Regions from separate parts of the Homo sapiens genome. Here all the other regions are linked to region 1. The links are contacts of gene promoters, found by promoter capture Hi-C in blood cells and fetal thymus (Javierre and others, 2016). All regions are on one chromosome and are shown on one strand. Each heading gives the region's core, a stretch centred on a gene start or on the middle of the fragment in contact. The rest is flanking DNA. Distances are from core to core; before and after follow the strand shown.

The links. The method cuts DNA at HindIII sites, captures the fragments that hold promoters and counts their contacts. A CHiCAGO score of 5 or more calls a contact.
Region 2: a contact is called between a fragment that was not itself captured here and the fragment with the promoter of NAA15 in region 1, in 13 of 17 cell types (total CD4 T cells, total CD8 T cells, non-activated CD4 T cells and 10 more). The highest score is 16.5, in total CD4 T cells.
Region 3: a fragment that was not itself captured here is called in contact with the fragment with the promoter of NAA15 in region 1 in 1 of 17 cell types (total CD8 T cells); the score reaches 5.0 in total CD8 T cells.

Annotation. Positions count from the first base shown.
Region 1 is chr4:139,300,037-139,302,818 of GRCh38, reverse strand. It overlaps NAA15 (N-alpha-acetyltransferase 15, NatA auxiliary subunit), which reads right to left and starts at 1,314. Exons shown (of 20, transcript NM_057175.5): 1 at 988-1,314. The coding sequence starts at 1,041. NDUFC1 (NADH:ubiquinone oxidoreductase subunit C1) reads left to right here and starts at 342. Exons shown (of 6, transcript NM_001184989.2): 1 at 342-403. RefSeq lists enhancers at 1,264-1,323, 1,804-1,923. The HindIII fragment of the contact is 1,328 bases long and covers 422-1,749 here.
Region 2 is chr4:139,041,040-139,043,846 of GRCh38, reverse strand. NOCT (nocturnin) reads right to left here. Exons shown (of 3, transcript NM_012118.4): 2 at 504-773. Among named protein-coding and RNA genes, the nearest start is that of NOCT, 27 kb to the right of the region's middle. The HindIII fragment of the contact is 7,272 bases long and covers 1-2,807 here.
Region 3 is chr4:139,657,462-139,660,161 of GRCh38, reverse strand. No RefSeq gene overlaps it. Among named protein-coding and RNA genes, the nearest start is that of MGST2, 7.0 kb to the left of the region's middle. The HindIII fragment of the contact is 250 bases long and covers 1,163-1,412 here.

The sequences.
Region 1 (2,782 bases), core at 65-2,564:
ATATTTTACAATGTAAACAGTCCCTGCAAACATCAATGCATTTATGGTTTAAAAAAATACAAACTGCACACATTTGAACCGTAGGGAATAAGTCTGAGCTAGCGTCAACAAAATCCATCTCAAAAGTTCTTATATTCTCATTTCTCTGGTAAGTTTTTGCATGTGTTAATATACTTCAGTGTATAAGAAAAGTCTAGGTCTGCAACGTTTCAACTAAAGACTCAACTTTTTACTTCCTACCGAACCGCCCCCTCGCAATGGGCCCCACCTCCCGAGAAGAGTGACGGGGTGGGGCTGTTTCCCGCTCGGAAACTAAGAAATAAATGCCTCATCCCTACTCCAGAAACGAGAACAACGGAGGCAGAGGAGCTGAAGACTCCAGTATGCAACTGACTACAAGGAGGTAGTCGTTTGAAAAGCTTTCTTTCCTTCTCTGAACTCCTTCTTTCCCTCCTCTCAGGTCATTGGGTGACCCCGGGCCGGGCGGAGACAGGTGAATCCCAAGAGAGGAGGAAGAGGGAGGGACAGATGATGGAGGGAGAACCGCGTTTAGGCAATGAATGAGCCTGCTGCATCCGCACCACCTGTTCCTTCCAAGGGTGCCACCCCGACCTGCCAGCAGGGTTCCCACACCAACCGGGCCGCGACTCCTGCCGGTGTCGCCCACTTGCCCGCCAAAGGCCGGGCCTCTTCTCCCCCAGATCGGGGAGAATGAGAACCGGCAGTCTAGAAGCCGGGAGGTCGGGGCCTAGTCCGGAACCAGGGCCTCAAGCGTGGGGATGGAATGAAGAAGCCTGTGGTCCCTGGCGCGCGGGCCATAGTAGGAACCACAGAGAGGGAGCAAAGCAATGCATTCGGCCTGACGAGAGCTATGAAGGCGGGGTCCCGGGCGGGAGTGGCTCAGTGCCCGCCGGGCCGAGGTTAGGGGTGACAGGCCCGGTTACCGGCTAAATCCTCCCCACCGCTTGCCCGGAGCCTCACACTTACCAAGATCCGCTTGAAGAGCGCATTCTCCTTGGGCGGGAGGCTCACGGCCGGCATCGTTCCGGCTGCTCCCGCTGCTCCCGCCACCACCCGGCTCGGTCAGTCAGTTTGTCCGACCGCCGCCGCTGCCGTTCCGTAGCTGCTTCAGCCTTGAATATCTCGATCCGCCGCCACCACCAGGCCTCGGGTGTCGCCGCGTTGCCCTACCCGGACACCTCCTTTTTCCTCGTTGTCTTTTTTCCTTTCTCACTTAACGCTGCCGCCGCCTCCCCCACTACGGGTCTCCGTCGGCGGTTCACGTGGTAACTGAACAGACCGACAGAGGCAGCCAAAATGGCGGACGCGGAGGGTTTTCCCACCCGGGTCACGCTTCCTAACACGCAGGCGCGGTGACCTCCTTTCCCCACCTCCTCTGGGTTTCGGAGCTTGCCGGGAAACCTGGAGGCTGGCCTGCCTGTGGAGGCCGGGAGGGTCGGGGCAGGCCCCGCCCATCATTTCAGTGCGTGGTACCCTCGAAGCGCCCGCGGAGCTACGGGAGGCTAGGCAAGTACGGTTCAGACCGCCTCCTCATCAAAAACAGCCTCTCTGGCGCCTTCCTGCTAGATCGACCTTTCATTCCTTGGAAAGAGTCTCGCACACTGTGTGATCATCGTTTGAGCCCAAAGTGCTAAAATACAGGTGTAGGTGTTTGAGAAGCGCTGTAGTTGATTATGGACGAAATGCCTAATTTAAGGAGCAGAGGCGGAGTGGAAAATGAAAAAAGCTTCACCGCAGTGGAGACTTGTTAACAGCCCTGGGGAGAAAGGGGCTTAACAGAGTCTGGAAATCGTGAAAGAGCTTGACCGATGAAATGGGCCTGGCTGTCGTATCGGTAATTTGGTGAATGTTGCTTAAGATCAGCCTGGAAAGGTAGTTAGTCAGATCCGAAGTGACATATTTGCACTGCCAAAGGAGGCTCTGGAGGTTAAAGTATGTGTTTTAATTTCGTTGTTGAGGCCATATAATGCAGAGTTGACGGACCGACCTTATGAGTCACCTTGGAGCGGAGTAGTGGAGACTTAAAGACAGACTACCCTGGAGCTGGCTTCAAACTAGTTCTTAATATTGTGACTCGAACTCCCCATCCCCAGAAATTCTCAGATCTTAGAAGCCAAAGACTGGCAAGGATACTAGAGGGAACTACTCGAGTAGGCGAGGTCAGACTACATACCGAATAGGAGTCCTTCCAAAAATGTAAGTCATTTCATTAACAGCTGACCGTAAAACTTTTTCAAAGTGGCATTCCATTGATCTAAAAATTTTCAAGTTATATGAGCCACTTTTAACCTTTGGTTTTTGATTACCTCTTTCCAAATCCTGATTTCACTCTGTAGCATTCTTTGCATCATGAATTATTAAACAATATGTGCGTGTTTTTTACTGTTTTAAATTTATTTGCAAAGATATTTTAATTTTCAAACTTCTCTTAACTGTCCCTGAAAGGTGTGAGTTGAGATACATGTTTCCCAATATAAACTTGGGTTTTGTAGCTGCTATATTGATTGTCCTCGCCCTTCACCGGGGTCATAAATAAGGTTTTTAACAGTCAAATCCTGGAGTTTCCTTAAATTCTGTGATCTCTCTTCAAAAGTTTGAGAAAAATCATATATACAGGAAACTATGTTTCAGTTTGAAATATGGCCAGTATTTTAACCTTAACTTTATAAAACTAAGAACAAGCTTATAATTCATTTTTAAGCTGTTACTTAGTAATAACCTGCAAAATTCACTGCCCCAAGAGATCTTTCAACTGTCTGAA
Region 2 (2,807 bases), core at 65-2,564, 260 kb after region 1:
ACTTTCTGGGTTCAAGCGATTCTCCTGCCTCAGCCTCCCGAGTAGCTGGGATTACAGGCATGCGCCACCACACCCGGCTAATTTTGTATTTTTAGTAGAAACGGGGTTTCTCCATGTTGGTCAGGCTGGTCTCGAACTCCTGACCACAGGTGATCCACCCACCTCGGCCTCCCAAAGTGCTGGGATTACAGGTGTGAGCCACTGCACCTGACTTGGTTTTTACAATTAAAGCAAGTAACTCGTGGTTTATTCTTTACACCTTCCATGTTTGTAGACTATCCAAGAACAATTAAAGTGTCTTTTTTCTTTCTAAAAAAAAAAAAAAAGTGAAAACCAGATGATTCCCTGTCTTAACCTCTTCTAGGAGCTCTCCATGCTGCTGCAGTCACCTCCATCTGCCCACACCTCTTCCTTCCACATAAAACAGTGCACTGTGGATGTGCAGAAGCAGAAAGGCAGTCACAGCAAACTTGACTGCAGAGGCACAAAAGCATCCAGCATACCTTGGGCGAGGATGTTCCATTGCATAACCCTGATAGGTGGGTGGGTACTAGGGCAATCTGTCCTCAGATCCACAAAATCCCTCTGGAACCGGGGAGGTCGGGTGTGCAGGACGGCCCTGCATTCCTCAAGAAGCTCTTTAGGATCAATGGGCTCCAGATGCTCTGGGTCAGGTGACACCAAATACTCTGGGTGCTGGGAGGCAGCGCTGCTGTTCAGTGTCTTGGCGAGAGCACTATAGAGTCTGCTTGTACCGGTTCCCATGGAACACACTACGGAAAAGGAAATCACAGTTACACACTCAGCTCCTTTTCCTGACTTCTCGCCCAGCACAACTGTAAGATAAACATTTACTGTCCACCGAAACCAGGAGCTCAATTGTTGCCATAATAGTGTATAAAGCCATTTCTTTTTTCTTTTTTTTTTTTTTTGAGATGGAGTTTCGCTCTTGTTGCCCAGGCTGGAGTGCAATGGCACAATCTCGGCTCACCGCAACCTCCACCCCCAGGTTCAAGCAATTCTCCTGCCTCAGCCTCCCAAGTAGCTGGGATTACAGGCATGCACCTCTACCCGCTGCTAATTTTGTATTTTCAGTAGAGATGGGGTTTCCCCATGTTGGTCAGGCTAGTCTGGAACTCCCGACCTCAGGTGATCTGCCCGCCTCGGCCTCCCAAAGTGCTGGGATTACAAGCATGAGCCACCACGCCCGGCGTATAAAGCCATTTCTACAGAGGCAGAATAAAGGAGTTTCCAGGTTCCAGCTTTCTACTAGGACAGTTAATTTAAGTACTACCGTTAAAACTAGCCTCTGATTAACAATGAAAACTCATCCTTTTAAGGAAGAAATACTTTGATCTTGATGGCCTCTTCTAACCTAGGATTTGTCTTTGTAATTTATAAAACCAGTCTTAAAAAAAGAGCAAGGCTTAACAAAATCTACATTCCTTTTTCTATATATCTTAAGAACCTCAAGACTAGGCTGGGCATGGTGGCTCACACCTGTAATCCCAGTACTTTGGGAGGCTGAGGCAGGTGGATCACTTGAGGTCAGGAGTTCGAGACCAGCCTGGCCAACATGGAGAAACCCTGCCTCTACCAAAAACATAAAAAATTAGCCGGGTGTGGTGGTGTGCGCCTGTAATCCCAGCTACTCAGGAGGCTGAGGCAGGCGAATTGCTTGAACCAGGGAGATGGTGGTTGCAGTGAGCTGAGGTGACTCTATTGAGCTCCAGCCTGGGTGACACAGCGAGACTCAAAAAAAAAAAAAAAAAAAAGATCTTAAAGACTAGTTTGTAAAAAGTGAAATGTTAGAAAGCCCATGTTAATGTTAATCCTGGGTGAGAGATTAGGTAATAGCAGGCTGCTTGCTACGCTGGTCATCTCATCTATACAGATCCCTCTGTTGGGGAAAGTAATGGCTAGATTCTTTCCCATTTCTCCTAGATGTTAAGTGTAAATCAAGGCTTGGGCTTTCTGTAGTAGAACTCTGAACTTCACTGAGTGGTATACTCTATAATCTTGTATCAATTGCTGGATTTCTTAAAATCCAGAAAAGGGGCTGAGGCCAGAAGGGCTTAGAGTAAGCTGATTTTGTTCAGCTAACTTCCATCCAGGGCACTACCTTCTCATGAGTTGCCCACATTTCCTGGGATCCTAGAAAGACAAAGAACAAGGAAAAATGCAGGAAGCACCAGTTACTTTGTCTTCCCGAGTTAATTTTTAGTGTTTTGCTTTTTATAATTCATTAAGGAGAACAGAGCATAATCTTCAACTAATTAGCATTATGTGGCAGTTCACTTGAAAGCAGTTGATTGCTCTTTTAGAGGTCAACTATGTTTTATTTTCATTATAGTATAAATTAGGGGCACATTTTACTGGGAGTAACATCCAAGATTCTCTGTATGATAAATGCTGGTACCAGGCAATCTGGATTTCCCTCTCTTGAGAGATACAAAGTTTTCTTTATAAAACATAAACATTTTATAAATGTAAACATTATATAAAGTTTTCTTTATAAAATTTGGCAGGCTTATCAATCACATCTCAAACTAGCAGTCAATCAAATTCACTGTGGCAGGTTACAAAGGAAATTCAATTATTTACCACCAAATGTCCTTGAACATTAAGGTCAATGAGGATGCAAGCATGCTTTTTTTGTTCCTTCCTGTCTACTCAAAGTAGTTTTTCCCTCCAGTAAGAAAGCTAGACTACAGCAAATGAACACATACTAATTTTCCCAACAAACATAGCAGGTGTGTGTGCATCTGCAAGCAAGCATGCTCTCCCACAAATACACACATATACAA
Region 3 (2,700 bases), core at 38-2,537, 360 kb before region 1:
CCATCACACATTCAAAACACACACTCATACACTTACATACTCTACAAAAACTTACGTTCCAAAAGGAAATTTGTAAGCTGAATGTTTAGACCTCAGAACACATATTTTCACAAAAATAATATTATGGCCAGGAGCGGTGGCTCACGCCTCTAATCCCAACTCTTTGGGAAGCCGAGGTGGGCGGATCACTTGAGGTCAGGAGTTCAGGACCAGCCTGGCCAACATGGTGAAACCCTGTCTCTACTAAAAATAGAAAAATTAGCCAGGCATGGTGTCACGTGCCTGTAGTCCCAGCTACTCTACTCAGGAGGCTGAGGCAGGAGAATCACTTGAACCCAGGAGGCGGAGGTTGCAGTGAACTGTGATCGTGCCACTGCACTGCAGCCTGGACGACAGAGCCAGACTCCGTCTCAAAAAATAATAATAATAATATAAATGGTGGCCATGTTTCCAGGTTACCACACATGAAACAAAACTTTCTATTCTTTTTTTTTTTTTTTTGCTTTTGTGTTTTAAATCAAATTTGAACCCATAAATTAGGTAACATACTGCATATTGGCAATTAAGCAACAACAAAAACAACTAATACTATTGGTTTGCCTTTTTCATGGAATCATTACAAACTTTTTAAACTGAATAGTACTTTGTATTAGATACTTTAAAACAGGGTCACTGGCGTGAACGTGCCCTGGCTCCTGTAGGCCATGCTCAGAGCTCGACTGTTGAACTTGCTGGGATAGAGCAGCAAGAGACGGGACAGCCTGGAGCCCAGAGGCCTGAGGTGTTCTGGATGAGCCCAGGGCTGCTGAGAAGGCCTCACTCTGATGGGGGCCTCTCATGCCCACCCTGCCAGCTCCCAAATCCAGTCAACAGAAGGCACTGTACTAGGCCCTATGCCAACCACTGGACAGAATTATCTCAACTAATCTGCATAGTCAAACAGTAAAGTGCATATATTATTCCCATTCTTCAGATGGAGAAACTGAGGCTGAGAGGTTAGTGACTGGCCCAGAGTCAGTACAACCCAGTCCTGCTGCCCCAGAGCCTTTACTCTTAACTTTGGCTGCACATTGGAATCATGTGAGGAGGGGTCATTAAAAATTACAGAACTTCAGATTTAATTAGCTCAGGTTCAGCCTAGGCACCTGAACGTTTTAAAGCTTCCCAGGTAATCCTAATGCACAGCCAGGTGGAGAACCACTGTCTTAACCAATGTTTCTCAGCATAGCCCATACCACTGCTACCACACTGGAGGTGACAGAAACACACAGATGTCTGGGCCTCATCCAGGATCCATTATGACACGCCAGCAAAGCACACATGGTCTCATGTAACTTGCACAAAACTCCCAGGAGCCTGTAAATTATTCCCATTTTATAGATAAGGAAACTGAAACTGAGACCTAGAAAGCTTCAAGAGCTTGACAAATCACTCCATTTGACTGCATCCAAAAGAGGGAAGATGGGGCAGGGCTGTTGAGGGGGTGAATAATCTGGTAGGTGCCCAAAGTGAGCATCAGTGGTGCCAGGATAGAGGAGAAAGGGGTGTGGAAGGTTCTGCAGTGGCAGAAGGGAAGAGGTGAGGCTGGGAATAGATGGGACCTGTAGGCCTCACGGGTGCAGCCCAGGAGAAATGCTGGTTTCCACTGGAGGAGTTTACAGTATGCCTGGGTGGAAGAGAGAAGGACAGACAGACATGGGAGGGAAATCTGAGGCTGAGATGGGGCAACAGGCTCTGAGGCACCAGCAAAGGTAAGTGTGGCTGGAGCCGAGTCTCAGCTGATTGGGCCCAGTACTTCCCCGCCCACTGGCTTTGAAGTGCATGGAGACTGGTGATTCTCACATTAGAATCACCAAGGGCGTTTTTGAAATAAACACTGATTTAACTGAAAAATCTCCAGGACTACCAACTACTGCCTCAGAGAACTTACTGAGATTTCTATGCACCAGAGGAGAGTTTACTCTCTTGAAACCTACAGCATATTATGTGATTGGGCTACTTAAAGAAAAAAAGGGGTACCGTGGCTTCACTTGGTGTCTCTCTGGGGCTTAAGGCAAAAGAAAAAGGGCAAGCTACCCCTCTTTTGATGAGAAAACACAAAAGGTTGGTGGATTAAGAACAAACAGTTAAAAGCAGCTCTTATTCACTTTGAAATGTGGTGCTAAACCTGCATCTGGGCTGACACACCAAACAACAGTCATTTCAACACAGCACAATCCTGTTAGAACATGACTCACAAAAACACCGATGTGTCTAGATCGGAGGCCAAGTCACGTCCTGCACAAAAAGAAAGGAAACACAGCAAAACAAGAAACCTACTGGCCCCAAACAGGAAAGCCCTCCTGTGCATGCGGGCCTGTGACTGCATCCTTCAGCTACCTTAGCAAGATGATAAAGAACTTTGAAAACTGCTTGCCTGCTTCTCTTTTCTTTCTTTCTTTCTTTCTTTCTTTCTTTCTTTCTTTCTTTCTTTCTTTCTTTCTTTCTTTCTTCTTCCTCTTCCACTTCTTCCTTTCCTTTCTCCGCCTCTCCCTCCCCTCCTTCTCCTCCCCTTCCTCCCCCTCCCTTCTCCTCCTCCTCTTCCTCCTTCTTCTTTCTTTCTTCTTGTTCTTCCCTCGTTCTTCTTTCTTTTCTTCTTCCCTCCTGCTTGCCCTTAGGGTGTGCCTGGTTCTCACCTTTGCTTCTGGGACTTGGGCAGGA